Regions from separate parts of the Homo sapiens genome. Here all the other regions are linked to region 3. Evidence: promoter capture Hi-C in human tissues and cell types (Jung and others, 2019). All regions are on one chromosome and are shown on one strand. The core of a region is centred on a gene start or on the middle of the fragment in contact, and the rest is flanking DNA. Distances in the headings are between cores, read along the strand shown.

The links. The method cuts DNA at HindIII sites, captures the fragments that hold promoters and counts their contacts. A contact is called where the count stands out against the background at its distance.
Region 1: a contact is called between a fragment that was not itself captured here and the fragment with the promoter of TMEM45B in region 3, in 1 of the 25 tissues and cell types used here (pancreas).
Region 2: a contact is called between a fragment that was not itself captured here and the fragment with the promoter of TMEM45B in region 3, in 1 of the 25 tissues and cell types used here (dorsolateral prefrontal cortex).
Region 4: a contact is called between a fragment that was not itself captured here and the fragment with the promoter of TMEM45B in region 3, in 1 of the 25 tissues and cell types used here (H1 embryonic stem cells).

What each region holds. Positions count from the first base shown.
Region 1 is chr11:130,198,819-130,202,794 of GRCh38, forward strand. It overlaps ST14 (ST14 transmembrane serine protease matriptase), which reads left to right. Exons shown (of 19, transcript NM_021978.4): 15 at 129-251; 16 at 1,133-1,319. Among named protein-coding and RNA genes, the nearest start is that of ST14, 41 kb to the left of the region's middle. The HindIII fragment of the contact is 6,598 bases long and covers 1-3,976 here.
Region 2 is chr11:129,346,572-129,350,423 of GRCh38, forward strand. No RefSeq gene overlaps it. Among named protein-coding and RNA genes, the nearest start is that of BARX2, 27 kb to the right of the region's middle. The HindIII fragment of the contact is 3,548 bases long and covers 27-3,574 here.
Region 3 is chr11:129,814,141-129,818,214 of GRCh38, forward strand. TMEM45B (transmembrane protein 45B) reads left to right here and starts at 1,708. Exons shown (of 6, transcript NM_138788.5): 1 at 1,708-1,758. LOC124902793 (a long non-coding RNA gene) reads right to left here and starts at 547. Exons shown (of 2, transcript XR_007062952.1): 1 at 1-547. The HindIII fragment of the contact is 7,942 bases long and covers 1-3,225 here.
Region 4 is chr11:130,134,971-130,138,662 of GRCh38, forward strand. It overlaps APLP2 (amyloid beta precursor like protein 2), which reads left to right. Exons shown (of 17, transcript NM_001142276.2): 13 at 593-745. Among named protein-coding and RNA genes, the nearest start is that of ST14, 23 kb to the right of the region's middle. The HindIII fragment of the contact is 3,426 bases long and covers 1-3,380 here.

The DNA.
Region 1 (3,976 bases), core at 1,366-3,865, 390 kb after region 3:
GCGTGGGTGGGGCAGGCCTGGGTGAGGGGGTAATGTGCAGGGGCCATGAGGCGCCATTGGTGGTTTCTGGCTTCTGGTCGGATGCTGCAGAGGAATTGAGCCCCTCCCTTGTCCTCCTCCTTGAACAGTGAACGTCGTCACTTGTACCAAACACACCTACCGCTGCCTCAATGGGCTCTGCTTGAGCAAGGGCAACCCTGAGTGTGACGGGAAGGAGGACTGTAGCGACGGCTCAGATGAGAAGGACTGCGGTGAGCAGGGCATCCGAGTACGGTTGTGCAGGTTGTTCACTGTGTGAAGTGCCCACCAGAGGGTGCACCTGGAGGTGCAATCCCGCCAGCACCTCACTTAGCAGCTCTGTGCTTGGGTGAGAGGGTGTGTCTCCTGGAGGAAAGGATAGCCTTGCCAGTTGGCATGAAGGCACCACCCCACGGGCTGGCTCTGGTCTTGGAGAAAGGCCCGTACGGCCAGCATCTCAGCGCCTCTGTAGCATGGCGGGGTCGTGGCTGCAGTGCGTTGCTGGCCCCTGCTGTGTAGACACAGCTGTGGAGCAGTAGCCTGGAGAAGAGCGGCCCAGCTCACCCAAGCCCAAGGCAGGGTGTCACCCCTGCCTGCCCATACTTTAATCTGCAGCCTCTGTGTTTCAGAAGCGTTGGCTGGCCACAGGTTAGATTTGAGCACAGCTCCAGCGTTCTGTGACCTCACATCAGCGGTTCATTCGTCCCTCTCAGAGCTGTGGCCTTCAGCATTCAAAGGCGCTTCTCCCTGCTCCATGCTGCCCCCTCCCCTGTGATGTCCCAAATGATGTCAAGTCAGGCAGATGACACCCAAATCAAAGTGAAGCTGACCAGCCAGCCTCCGGAGGCCCTCGCTGCATTTGTGAGGGAGGGGGAGGTGGGAAGATGAGGGTTTGAATTTGGGAGCGGGGAGAAGGAGGGGCATGGTGGAAGGGAGTCTGTGAAGCTCAAAGATAGTTTTGGGGGTCCCTCACGCCCTGGCCACGCCAGCAGTGCTGTGCACGCCAAAAGCTGGCTTCCCCACACAGGGTCTCCTGGCACACACTGCATGTCCCCTTGTGGTTTGATGTCCCCACCTTGACTTGCTGTCCTCTGGTTCTCTGCTCCCTCTGCAGACTGTGGGCTGCGGTCATTCACGAGACAGGCTCGTGTTGTTGGGGGCACGGATGCGGATGAGGGCGAGTGGCCCTGGCAGGTAAGCCTGCATGCTCTGGGCCAGGGCCACATCTGCGGTGCTTCCCTCATCTCTCCCAACTGGCTGGTCTCTGCCGCACACTGCTACATCGATGACAGAGGATTCAGGTGGGTCTCTGGGTGGGCAGCAGGGAGCCTCCTTGCTGGCCCTTTGCATCTGGGAGTAATGCCAGGATAGGTTGGCACCGAGGCAGGGCACTGGAGGGGTGGCCACATGTGTTAGTCCATTCTTGAGTTGCTCTAAAGAAATACCTGAGACTGGGTCATTTATAAAGAAAAGAGTTTATTTGGCCCATGGTTCTGCAGGCTGTATAGGAAGCGTGGTGCCAGCCTCTGCTTCTGGTGAGGGCCTCAGGGAGCTTCCATCCATGGCAGAAGGTGAAGGGGGAGAAGGCACATCACATGGCGAGAACAGGAGCAAGAGAGAGCAGGAGGAGGTCCTAGACTCTTAAGCAGCCAGCCTCGTGTGAACTCAGAACTCACCCATCACCATGGGAAGGGCACCAAAACATTCATGAGGGAACCGTGACCAAAACACCTCCTACCACGCCCCACCTCCAACACTGGGGATCCCATTTCAACATGAGATTTGGAGGGGACAAGCATCCAAACCAAATGAGCAGATATCCCAGGACGGGGCTCAATAACAGTAATAATAAAAACTCACTGTATTCGGTGCCCACTTGCAGCCAAGTGCTGTCTCTGTGCCTCTCCTAAAACCCCCTAGCAAGTTAGGCAGCTTGATTGTATCCTCACTACAGAAAGTAAGGTTCAGAGAAGTAGGGACGTTTGCTTGGGGTGGCACAGCTGTTAAGTGGCAGAGCCAGACTTGAGCACAGGTGTGGTCTCCGGTGAGTCTGCACTGTGCAACTCCTCGGATTGGCCAACGTGAGCTTTGGATTCATGCTCCAGCTCTGGCTTGCCGGTGGCCCTGGGCAGGTTATTCAAACTTCCTAGGCCTTGGGTTCTTCACCAATGATAGTGACAGTATCAGCTCCCACCCTTAGAGTTGTGAGAATTAAATACAATGCTGTACTTGAGACACTTTGCGCTGTGCCTGGCACATAGTAGGTGCTCAGCATGTCATGGCCTCAGACACACAGACAGATGAGAGGCCTGGAAGGGTCACATGGGCATCCCAGGAACAGGGGCACAATGCCGGGCTGCGCTATTTGTGTCTTAGCTCCTGGCCTCTCTGGGCGTCTGGCTGTTGGCTGAAGGAAGGAGTGTTAGGGCCTGGCTTGCCCTGAAGAGGCAGGCACAGGGGCATGGGCCTTCCAGGAGAATCCAACCTCGGAAGAAGGGGATGCGCTTTCTGCTGGCTGCACGCTTTTCCATGGTAGGCAGCTCCAGGAGCAGGTGACCCAAGCCCTCAGCTGCCCTTTGCAGGGAGGAGAGATGGGCCCACAGCAGGAGGGAGGCCTGAGGCACAGATGGAGTGTGCTCAGACCCATGCACAGGGCTTGGGTGATGGAGATGGACAGCAAGAGCCTGTGGGGAGTGGACCCAGTTCCATGGTCCCCAGCTTCGCTGGGTGCTTGACACGTGGCTTTGTCCAGCCTGAGGCTGTCCCTTGTCTCACTGTGTCACCCAGGCTGAAGTTCAGTGGTGCAAATCATAGCTTGCTACAGTCTTGAACTCCTGGGCTTGAGCAATCCTCCTGCTTCAGCCTCCTGAGTAGCTGGGACTACAGGCACATGCCACCATGCCCAGCTAGTTTAAAATTTTTGTAGAGACAGAGCCTTGCTAAGTTGCTAAGCTTGGCCTCCACCTCCTAGGCTGAAGTGATCCTCCCATCTTGGCCTCCCAAAGTGCTGGCATTACAGATGTGAGCCACCATGCCTGGCCCAACCACTTCTCTTTGAGGTTGGCTTTTGTGCCTCTTTGATATGCCCCATTCTTTCCTTTTTTGAGCCATGTCCTTGCTTTCTGGCACTACCAGGTACAATAGGCTCATCTTATGTTTCCCCAGCCCAGCCCTAGGACCAGCCATTTCTCCAAGGAGTCCTTTACTGGGAATGGTATTTAGAGACCAAGGTCCGGTTGCTTAGTGTGTTCATTGTCACCATGGTGTCATGTCCAGGCCCAGTTAGCAGGTAGAGCTAGGAAATGGCTGGGTGCATACTAAGAACTGCCCTGCCATCCTGCACTGCTTCCTCTTTTCCTTTGCTTCGTTGCTTTCTTTCTCATTTCCTTCTCCTTCATCGTGTGTTGATCATCAGTCATGCTTCTGCCAACGAGTAGTGCAATTAATCTTCAACACCCCTGGTTACTATTGACACTAGAGAGACCAACATGAATAGGACTTGGTCCCTGCAGATTGTGGGTCACAGACTTGTAAGGGTAGGGACAAGACATGACACACATGTGCAGTAAGTGCTGTGGCAGGGCTGTGTCCAGGCTCCCTTGGGCCCAGCATGTGGAGTTTAGAATTCTAAACCCATATGCCTGAGGGACTCGGGGGGTGACTGTTGGGAACACTCAACATGGGTGTCTGAACTGAGGGTTGAAGGTGAGGGTGTCTGTCAGCTGGACCAGGTGGCTCAGACCTTCCAGACAAAGGGAGTGTCGTGTGCAGAGGCAGGGAGGTGTGAGATGTGCAGGGGCATGGTGTCAAGGGACCCTGAGCACATGGCTAAGTCATCATGCATTCATTGGGCACTGCCGGGAGGCGGCATCACGTTGCGGTTAAATGCACAGGCTGCCTAGGTTGCAGTTGTGGTCTACAGCGTGTTAGCTATATGATCTTCGGCAAGTTGCCCTCT
Region 2 (3,852 bases), core at 551-3,050, 470 kb before region 3:
AGTGAAAAGACAAATCAAAGAATGGGAGAAAATATTTGCAAAACATGTATCTGATAAGAAACTTGTATCCAGAATATATATTTGAAACTCGGCTGGGCGTGGTGGCTCACGCCTGTAATCCTGACAGTTTGGGAGGCTGAGACAGGCAGATCATGAGGTCAGGAGTTCAAGACCAGGCCAGCCTGACCAAAATGGTGAAACCTCGTCTTTACTAAAAATACAAAAATTAGCCGGGCATGGTGGCACGCACCTGTAGTCCCAGCTACTTGGGAGGCTGAGGCAGAATAATCGCTTGAACTGGGGAGGTGGAGGTTGCAGTGAGCCTAGATCATGCCACTGCACTCCAGCTTGGGTGACAGAGCGAAACTCCGTCTCAAAACAAACAAACAAACAACAAAAAAACCTCTTATAATTCAATAATGAAAAAAGAACAAAATTTTAAAATGAGCAAAGGATTTGAATAGACACATCTCCAAAGATATACAACTGGCCAATATGCATATGAGAAGATGCCCAACTTCATTAGTCATCAGGGAAATACAAAGTGAAACCACAATGAGATACCACTTCATACTCACTAGGATGACTATCATAAAAAAAAAAAAAGACAGATAATAGCAAGTATTGGTAAGACAGTGGAAAAATTGGAACCCTCATATGTTGCTTATGGTATGTAAAATGGTGCAACTTCTCTGTAAAATAGTTTGGCAGATCATCAAAATGTTAAACATAGAGGTACCATATTACTCAGCACTCCTATATGCCCAAGAGAAATGAAAATATATGTCCACATATATTTGGTCGACACCAAAACTTGTATACTAATGCTCATAGAAGCATTATTAATAATTGCAAACAAGTGAAGAGAGCTTAATGTCCATCAAGTAATGAATGGATTAACAAAATGTGGTAGGTATATCCATAATGGAATATTATTTGGCCATAAAAAAGGAATGAAGTGCTGATACATTCTATAACATGGATGAATCTAGAAAACATTATGCAAAGTAAAAGAAACCAGTCACAAAAGATCATACTGTGATCTTTTGAATCATATTATGAAATCTTATCAGGTGATTTCATTTACATGCAATGTCCAGAACAGGCAAATCTATAGAAACAGAAAGTATATTAATGGTTGCCTCTGTCTGAGGTTAGTGGGAAACAGGGAGTGATTGCTAATGGCTATGGGTTTTTTAGGGGTTGGTTGCGGTGATGAGGAAAATGTTCTAAAATTCATTGGGATGATGGTTGCACAACTCTAATATGTTCAAAAACATTTAATTTACACTTTATTGGGTGCATTGTATGGTATGTGAACTATACCTCAATAAGGCTGTTAAAAAAGAAATACAATGGTGTGGGTTACTGCCATCCTTGAGAATCTCTTTAATGACCAGTTGTCCTCTGTAGACTGTAGATGATGTGGGGAGATGCTGCAATGTAATTAGATTTCTTGATCTCAGTGTGAACAATGAGGGTCTCAAAGTGGGAGAGGCCAGTGGAAATGCTTAAACATCAGACTACGTGGACAACTTTACCCCAAAAGCTACACAATCAGAATAGTAATCAGAGCATCTTGTCTCAAAAAGATGTATAGTGATAGCTAACTAATCATGAGACATGTAAAATGAAATAGATGGACAGCCCACTAAGGTACTGCAAGCATAAATGAAAAAACCCTGGGTCTGTTGGGCATAAATCTAACTTGAGTTGCTGTAGTGGGCATTCATTGCTTCTTTCTTGGTTTCCAGGCCTAAACCACTTCCCAACCACCGGAACCCTTTGACTGGGAATTTGGCCAGGTATTTTTGAGAAAGCACTATGTAACCTTCCACAGTTGTGTACTATGAATCTTAAGTGTTTTCCAGTAGGATCGTCAGCCATTTGCCAGGGCAACTGTGAATTAGGGGAAGGAAGATCCAGGGGCTGTTAGATATTGTCTCTGAACTGATGCTAATACTGAGATTTGAAATGCTGCTATGGTCCACTGGTCTGAAGGGGAACTTATTCCAGACAGATAAATGATGGTGTCTTGCCCTAGTCTGTCTCACTGTGAGTCCATTGGGATTGCAGTCCCGTTCTGTGGTTATTTTCCCAGTCCAAGTGCAGTCATTTCTGCATAACGATGCTGATCAACAGCAGACCATATATATGACTATAGTCCAATAAGATTATAGTGAAGCTGCCCTATACAGATGTACCATTAAAATATTTTATACCCTTTTTTTTAACCATACCTTTTCTATGTTTAGGTAAGTTTAGATATGCAAATACTTACCATTGTGTTACAATTTCTTACAGTGTTCAGTACAGTAACATGCAGTATAGATTTGTATCCTGTATGGCTCTACCACATAGCACAGATGTGTAGTAGGCTACTTCATCCAGCTGGTGTAAGTACACACAATGATGATCCCACAACAGTGAAATTATGTGATGACACATTTCTCAGAACATGTCCCCATAGTTAAGCCATGCATGACTGTATGTATAGCATAGGGAGCAGACATACTTAGTAAGTGGCAGAGTCCTCACATGGGTTTCCTGACCCATAGATTCCTGTAGAGTTTCTCTCAATCTAGATTTTGTTGGCTGAATACTCAGGCACAGTTCAAAATATTCCTCTGTTTTCCTAAACATTTACAGCTGGATACAGAGCTTGATCTCCTTCAGGTTTGATCCCTTCAGCAAGGGTACAGGAAGTGTTGTGGTCTTCATGATGAAGACCATAGGGTCTGGTAGTATCCCGTTTTATAATGTTAGCAGTTGTTGATGCTCAAAGATCAGATCTATTAATTCACTGGGTGTGGCTAAATGATGATATTCTTTTTTTAAGTTCTATCTTATTTTTTGAGATGGGGTCTCGCTCTATTGCCCAGGCCAGAGTGAAGTGGTGGGATCTCGGCTCACTGCAGCTTCCAGCCTCGTGGGATCAAGCGCTCCTCCTGCCTTAGCCTCCCCAGTAGCTGGGACTACAGATGCACACCACCATGCCTGGCTAATTTTTGTATTTTTTGTAGAGATGGGGTTTCACCATGTTGCCCAGGCTGGTATTGAACGCCTGAGCTCAAGCAATCCTCCCACCTCGGCCTCCCAAAGTGCTGGGATTACAGGTGTGAGGCACTGTGCCCACCCAATGGTGATATTCTATCGTTTTTTTTTTTTTTTTTTTACTTATTAGACTCCTTTTATAAGGAGACAGTTCCCCTCGTCTACTATCTGTTACCCAGTGACACAGTTGATATATGAAAGGCAGAGCAAATTTTTGATTCTTTTCTTTTATTTACCAGTTTTCAGTATAATGAATTTGTTCTTTGACATGCTTTAGTTTTCTAAAATATCACTTTGAACTTATAGGTTTGAACATAGTTGAGGAATTCCAGACACTTGCAATTATGTATTTTCCTTTTTGAAGCTCTGAATGTACCTTCTTTTGCCGATAAAAGCTTCTTCAGTTTGATTCCTGATTCTTTCCTTGCAGGATCCTAGCAGTACTTGATAGCTTCCTTGCTATGTAGAAAGACAAGATGTTTTAGGCTCCTCTTGTACATTTCCTTCCCTAGATCTGAAATTCAGCGATTTCTCCAAGAAGCCCTAGTTTCTCTTAGTGGGACATGATGTTTTAAATTGAAGTCTAATGCTCATTGCTACAGGTTAGGTGACTGTTTCTAGACTTCTCTAATAGGGCTAAGTAAGCTTTAGTCCACATTATATACTTTACAGTCATGGAATAACAACACTAAAATGATCACCACATATTTAATTACTGAAAACGAGTTGAAAATGTCCTCATATAGCTGTACTATATTTTCACCCATATGTGATGGTTAGTGTTAGGTGCCAACTTGA
Region 3 (4,074 bases), core at 458-2,957:
TAGTTCTTAAACATGGTGTGTCCGGAGTTTGTTCCTTCAAATGTTCAGGTGTGTCCGAAGTTTTTTCTTTCTAGAGAGTTCGTGGTCTATGCACGACTTGATGAGTGAGGCCGCGGACCTTCGCAGGGAGTGTTACAGCTCTTAAAGGTGGCGCATCCGCGTTGTTCCTTCCTCCCAGCGGGTTCGTAGTTTCGCCGACCTCAGGAGTGAAGCCACAGACCTTCGCAGGGAGTGTTACACCTCTTAAAAGTGGTGCGTCTGGAGTTGTTTGCTCCTCCCTGTGGGTTCGTGGTGTCGCTGACTTCAGGAGTGAAGCCACAGACCTTCACAGTGAGTGTTATGGCTCTTAAAGGTGGCGGCTCCAGAGTTGTTTCTTGTGGTGGCTTCCTGGTCTCGCTGGTTTACAGGAGTGAACCTGCAGACCTTCACTGTGAGTGTTAAAGCTCATAAAGGTAGTGTGGACCTAAAAGGTGAGCAACAGCAAAATTTATTGCAAAGAGCGAAACAACAAAACCCCAACACCATCGAAGGGGACCCAAACGCAGCTGCCGCTGGCTCGGATGGCCAGCTTTTATTCCCTCATTGGCCCCGCCCACATCCTCCTGATTGGTCCTGCCCACATCCTCCTGATTGGTCCATTTTACAGAGCGCTGATTGGTCCATTTTACAGAGTGCTGATTGGTCCATTTTACAGAGTGCTGATTGGTCCGTTTTTACAGAGTGCTGATTGATGTGTTTACAAACCTTTAGCTAGACATAGAGCATTGATTGGTGCATTTACAATCCTTTGGCTAGAGAGAAAAGTTCTCCAAGTCCCCACCAATTAGCTGGACACAGAGCACTGATTGGTGCATTTTTACAGAGTGCTGATTGGTGTGTTTACAAACCTTTAGCTAGACACAGAGTGCAGATTGATGCTTTTACAATCCTTTAGCTAGACAGAAAAGTTCTCCAAGTCCCCATCCGACCCAGAAGCCCAGCGGGTTTCACCTCTCAGTAGCTTACAGAAGAGGACCCTGCTGCCACAGCACAATACCACAAAGAAAGTCATGCTCTCCTCAGCAGGTAGCCCCCTTCTCCGGGACAGGAACTTTGTTTCCTTCTTAGCTCTATCGCCAGCACCTAGAACAGTGCCCACCTGTCAGATCTGTTATCAGATGGGAACATGGCAGATTTGTTGAATGAATGAAGGAATGAATGAACTATGTGACACTCAAACTTAGCCACCAAACTTAAACTAAAAAAACTGGGTTGTGGTCCCTGATGGACCGTTGGCACCTTCTTCCTTTGCTGGACGGTGATCCGTGGCTGTTTCTGCGGTGTGTTCGCAGTGGTTGCCTGGCTTGGTAACAAACACTCTTCGGAGCCACAGCCTGTTCTCAGGGTCCTCGCCGCCTCCCAGGCCCTGCGATCTCTTTGCATCTCAGGAGGTCCAGGTTGGTTGCAGTCCTCTTGGGTGACTCAGGAACCAGCCTCTCCTGAAGCACACAGCTTAGGGAGTTCCTGAGGCCAGAGACATCTCCACGGGAAAGTCAAAGGCCTGGAGGAAGTGCGGACCTGACGACAGATGCCCCGCACGCTGGCCGGGACCGGGAAGGGCGGTCAAGGGTGGAAAGGGGCTGGCGGCTGCCAGGCCTGGCGGAGTGGAGCGGGGCGGGGCGCAGCGGGGCGGGGCGGGCCTGGAGCTGCACCTGCTTCTGGGCGGACGCACTTGGCGCGCGGCGCGGGCTGCAGACGGCTGCGAGGCGCTGGGCACAGGTCAGACGTCCGTACCCGCAGGGGGCTCGAACCTGGAGGAGGGCTCGAAGGGAGAGGGGGCCCCGCCAAGGAGCGGGGCTGTGATGGAGAGGAGGTTCCGACTCGCAGGGGACCTGCGGGGGAGGGGACGCGGACAGGGAGGGGCTCTGGGACAGGGGTGAAGGCTGCGCTAGGGGAGGACGGGAGGGGATGGAGGGCCCTGGTGTCGCGGAAGCCCAGCTGGGGCCCCCTCCGGGCTGCGGAACCGGTGCGCACACTACTCCCACCGCCCCCGAGTGCCTCTGTCCGGCTGGCCGCGGCCCTGGAACGAATATTGCTCAGTCCCCCGCGAGTCAGGTCTGCCGCGTTGCCCGGTGAGGGGAAGGTGTGAAGCCCCGGGCCTCCGTCTGCCCGGTGAGTCCGGGGACGCGCGCCCCCGGGGATGCCATCTGGCTCCTGGGCTGTGACCAGTCACAGCTCACATAGCTCTGGGCACTGGTACCGACTGCCTTTCCTTGTTAGCTGCGATACACAAATACACGAGCCAGATCCTTTCCTGAGGCCAGGAAGCCTGGAATCTAATAACACCGGGCGGTGGATAAAGTCCCCCGAGCCAGTGCTTAGCTTCCGTTAATGGAGCCATGGATGGAAGCGGATGTCAGGCGCAGTGGGGGAGAAATTTGCGGGGGTGGCCCTGTCTAGGGCCAGAGAAACAACCTCTGAAGCTTTGATCCAGCCCTAGAGGGAAGAAAGATGTGAGTTTCAGCCAGGGAAACGTAGCACTTTAAGAAATAGAAACCCTTTCAAAATTTGAGGGCAGGTAGCTCTCCTAAAAGTTGCAGAAATGGCCACTTCTTTTTTTTTTTTTTTTTTTTTTTGAGACGGAGTCTCGCTCTGTCGCCCAGGCTGGAGTGCAGTGGCGCAATCTCGGATCACTGCAAGCTCCACCTCCCGGGTTCACACCATTCTCCTGCCTCAGCCTCCCGAGTAGCTAGGACTACTGGCGCCCGCCACCACGCCCGGCTAATTTTTTGTATTTTTTTTTTTTTTGGTAGAGACGGGGTTTCACCGTGTTAGCCAGGATGGTCTCGATCTCCTGACCTCATGATCCACCCGCCTCAGCCTCCCAAAGTGCTGGGATTACAGGCGTGAACCACCGCGCCCAGCTAGAAATGGCCACTTCTTTCACGTTCTCTTCGACCGCTTTCTGCGGTGTCTGCCCTTTTCCTCCTCCTGCACCTTTTTGTCTCCTAGGGTCGCATAGCCTTCCAAACAGGCCTGCCTACAGCATTTTACCTGCAATTTTACACTCATTTTAATAGAAAGGATGGCTTATTGTTCATGAGAGACGTGTACTGTTTTTAACCAGATGTGTAATATCTTCAGTATAACCTGGATGTTGTGCAGTGGGAAGTTATGGAAAGAATCAGGACACGTGGTTAGGTAGGGGCCCAGGGGCGTCAGACTTAGCTCTTTGTGACAGTGAGCTTCTTGGTTTAATAAGGATATTGGCTCCCTCTGTTCCTGGGGTTTCTGGGAAAAGATATGGAACTGATATGAAGGTTTTATTGAATATGGCCCACTGATTTTACAAGTGGAGGTGACTGAGATAAGCAGAAGGTGAGGCATGACCTCTGGCTGTGCATTATTTGTTCTGATATTACAGGAGCCAAGCATTCCATTTCCTTCTTTTTAAAGAGCTTTGATTTCCTCTCACATCTTCATGAAGATGGAAACAGTGCCCCCACTTACTTATCCTCAGGCCACACCTGTTCCCATTTATTCCATGAGTTCCTCCCACACCCTTCTGGTTGATGTTGGTTGTGATGGTCGAGGTAATTGAATCTCACATTTGGCACCAGTTATTTCTGTTTCTCATCTCCCCCCTACCTGCAGTTAAACATCAGCTGCTATACTTAACTGTTCAAAGTACAGATGTTACCTGTGTTGGGTGTAATCAAAAGATTATCTCTTTTCCTCAAATGAAAAATGGGTGAGGACAGTTTCACCACACATAGAGTCACTCCCCTAGCCAAAGTCCTTGCTATTGCAAAACTTTTTACTGTAAGAGAATTAAAGTCACTAGTGTGTCATCAACTAATGGTACTTATAGACACATTCCATATTTGTTTCTATAGAAAGATCATAAGACAAACACTAGATTATTCCCAGTATGAGACCATACTGAATATGAACAATTAGAGGCCACAGGTGAGTGCTGTCCTCCTCACACTTTCTTTGAACTCTTAAGCTTCTACTCTTTTAACCAGCTACCCCTCTCCCCAAAACCTTCACTGAGGCTAGAAACAAACACAAATAGACTATTTGAATTTTAGC
Region 4 (3,692 bases), core at 418-2,917, 320 kb after region 3:
GAGGCAGAGGTCAGGCAGTAGGTCCAGGATTCGGGCCTGGGAGTCATGGTATATGGTCAGTATTTAAAACTGGCGTCGGGGAGAAGTAGGTCAGAGGGTATGAAGTGGTAGTTGTAGTTACGTGGGGTGGATACGTCTAGAGATGGGATGGACAGCATGAGGACTGTAGTTAGTAATATCGTACTATATACTAAAAATTTGCCGAGAGTAGATTTGAGGTATTCTTATTTTTAAAAAAAAGTAATTCTGGAAGGTGATGTGTGTGTTTGCTTGACTATGGAAATCATTTCATGGTGTATATGTATATCAAAGCATTATATTTTAGACCTTAAATATGTACAATTTTTTAAACCCCCAAAATCTGTGGAGTTGTGGATACCACTTAACTGGAGTGTGGAGGTGGATGCAGGGGTGCCTGGGACGGCGCCCTGGGGTCCCTGGTGTTGGGGCTCTGTGGTGCCACAGAATCAAGGAAGGTGTTTCAGGCAGGAACTGGGAGCCACAGTGGGGTCTTGGAGCTCTAGAGCATCCTGTGCCTGGACACCAGGCCCTTCTGAAGCCTGCTTTCTGTCCCCTGCCCTGTCTTCATCAGATGAGCTCCTTCAGGAGCAGCGTGCAGATATGGACCAGTTCACTGCCTCAATCTCAGAGACCCCTGTGGACGTCCGGGTGAGCTCTGAGGAGAGTGAGGAGATCCCACCGTTCCACCCCTTCCACCCCTTCCCAGCCCTACCTGAGAACGAAGGTGTGTATGGGCGACGGTGCCACTTCTGGGCAGCAGGGGGAGGACAAAATGAGAGAATTGAAGTCAGTTTTTCGAAAACCAAATTGAGTTGGGAGATGGTGTTCCTGCGAGAGTCAGGGGAAGGGAGACTGGATTCATTGAGCGCCTACTGTGTGCAAGGACCCTGCTAGATGCTTTCAAATCATTGGTGTCAATGTCACCATGAAGTTAAGACTAATTCTCCCATTTCAAGATGGGTGGCTTCAAACCCCCACTTCTTCCAACTTGTGCACTTCCTTACATGGGGGAGGCACTTGGCAGTTGAAACAGCGCCTTCCTGTTATGGTGTTACCTTTGCCCAGCCGTCTTGGGAGGTAGGTGCTGGAGAGGCTGAGGAGGTGACAGGGCTGGCGTGGGTCATATCTCTGACATGAGGTGGGGATAAGAAGCTGTTCCTCTGGGTCCTAGGCAGACGTTCTTTCCTCTATTCCCCTGCTGGTTCTCAGTGTCTAAGAGGATCTCTAAAAGCTGTGAGTCTGCTCCAGAAATAAACAAGTTGCTGAGACCAGTGCCCTGAGAGCCGTCCCCCTCATCAGTTCTGTTTGTTGCTGTTGCTGCTGACAGGGTAATGATAAGAATGGCCCACAGCTATGCCGTAGTCCTTGTTATATGCCAGCTTTAGCTAAGCATCTCAGCGGATGCTCTCCATCCTCACAGTAACCCTCGCAGGTGGGTAGTCGAGTGTCCCCATGTGGGGATTCTGAGGTATAAAGAGATTAAGTAACTTGCCCGAGGTCATGTAGCTTATAAGTGGAGAGTCAGGGGTCGAATCCAAGCTGATCTGGTCCTGCAGTCACAGACCTGACTGGATATAGCACTGGAACAGAGGCCTCAGGAAGGCATCAAATTAGGGGTGGGGGGATGGAGGTACATCCAGCTTAGCCTTCAGACCTTAATGGAAATGCTTTCTAAACTAGCGATCCCAGAGCAGTTGACTCTCCAGAAATAAAACAGGATCTGAGGAAGTGGCAGATAGATGAAAAGGCGCCATGCCACCCGCAAATCTCCGTGGGTTTTTGGGGTGGTAGATGAAGAGGCACCATGCTATCCCCAAATCTCTGTGGGTTTGTCGGGTGGCCATGCTTGGACAACTTCTTATGTGCTTGTTGGGGGTCGGGGCAGCTTGGATATACCTGAACTAGGACCTTATCTCCCTGTCAGCAAACCACAACCAACACTTAACTTCAATTTTCACTTTTTTCTAAGAAAAATAATTATGTGGGCTAAGCTAAATAGTGCAGGCATCTCCCAGTTTCCCTAAAAAGGCACAAGACAGACCTACTTTTTTCTCTCTTATCAAGGATACCCTCCAGTGATTTGCTGTGGCTCATACTGCTGGTTTGTTTATGGGATATTTCAGGCAGGGTGTTTTTAAGGAGGAATACTTTTTGTTCACATTATAGAGAAATTCTAAGATAGAAATTTTAAAAGAAGCCATTTTCTTTTTTAATCTCCTTTTGTGCTATTTTATTTTGTTTTTTATTGTTTTCCTTTCTGCTAGACACTCAGCCGGAGTTGTACCACCCAATGAAAAAAGGTTGGTTTGTCCAAGATGTTCCCTTTAAGACCTTCATTCCTCTCCACTCCCTAGTGTGTCCGAAGCTTCATGTTCTGTTTCATGCCATCACCTGGCTTTCCCCACCTCATTCCTTCTGACACGGCTGTGAGTGGGGTCAGAGCAGCCCCACCTCCATGTTGCTGACAAGCTGACCTGACTCCAGCACTCTGAGGCCAGTTTCCATGGTGTTGGTTACCTCGTGGTCATGCTAAGCTTTCCCTCTGGGATGTCAGAGAATGCACAGCAACCAAAATAGATTTCATGACCCTTTTAATCTGGGTAGATTTTTAGAAGTATATCCAACTTAGGTTGGTTGTGAACTGCTGTCTCCGTATAAATATGCCTTATTTACAGTCAGGTGGAGAGTCGTTCTCTTTTCCCTCTTTTTCTCTGCAATTCCCATTTACATCTTTTCTTTTTGGCTCTCCTCGCCCTTTGTCTGTGCCAGTTGTCTCATGTCCCCTGAGTTGTATATTCCTCAGAACATCGGAAGCCAATGGATCAAACAGCTGGAGACAACCCAGCTCACTGTACTGAGTCTCCAGTTTTCAAAAAGAGTTAACGTTCCGTAAAGCACTATGTGGAATGCTTTGCATTCTTGTCCCCATCTTAGTCCACTGAACGTCCCTGTAGGATGAGTAGTGTTTTTAGCTCTATTTTCTAGATTAGACAATTGAAGAAGTTTCTGAGATGACGTGACTTGCTCTAAGAAGTGGAGGAACCAGGATTTGAACCCAGTTCTCTGTTCCCCAAGCCCATGTGATTTCATTACCTGAGTTGTCGGTGTCACGGGATCCCCCAGGTGGGTGGGTGGCCCAGTCATTGTGAATCATTTCAACATTTCTTGTTCATAATGTGTTGTATGAGCCCACCCTTGGCTTTGGCAGACTTCCTGTTGATGGGCCAAACGGTGTTGCCCGGCTAAGAAGGTGGTGTTCTGGTTTACGCCACAGGTTATTCTCAGAACACAAAAGTGTGATTTCAATCTTCTGAAAATGACTTCGTGTAGATGCTTTATTTTATTCTACTTGGATATGCCTGTTCGTGGGGATGACTGTGCCGACATTCCTTTCAACAGCACAACTGAGATGTTTATAGAGAAAGATGAGTTTTCTAGAAGTTTAACTGGCTTTTGCTTTTGTACTGAACTGTTATGAGTTGGGACAATTTAAACATTAACTTTGGTGTCTTGAAGTCACTTGTTTATGTTAAGAAACGTGGGGGCTATACCACCAAAAATCTATTATAACAGTCTGGACTGGTGGTAGGTTTTTTTTTTTTTTTTTTTTTTTTGAGATGGGGTCTTGCTGTTGCCCAGGCTGGAGTGCAGTGGTGCGGTCTTGGCTCACT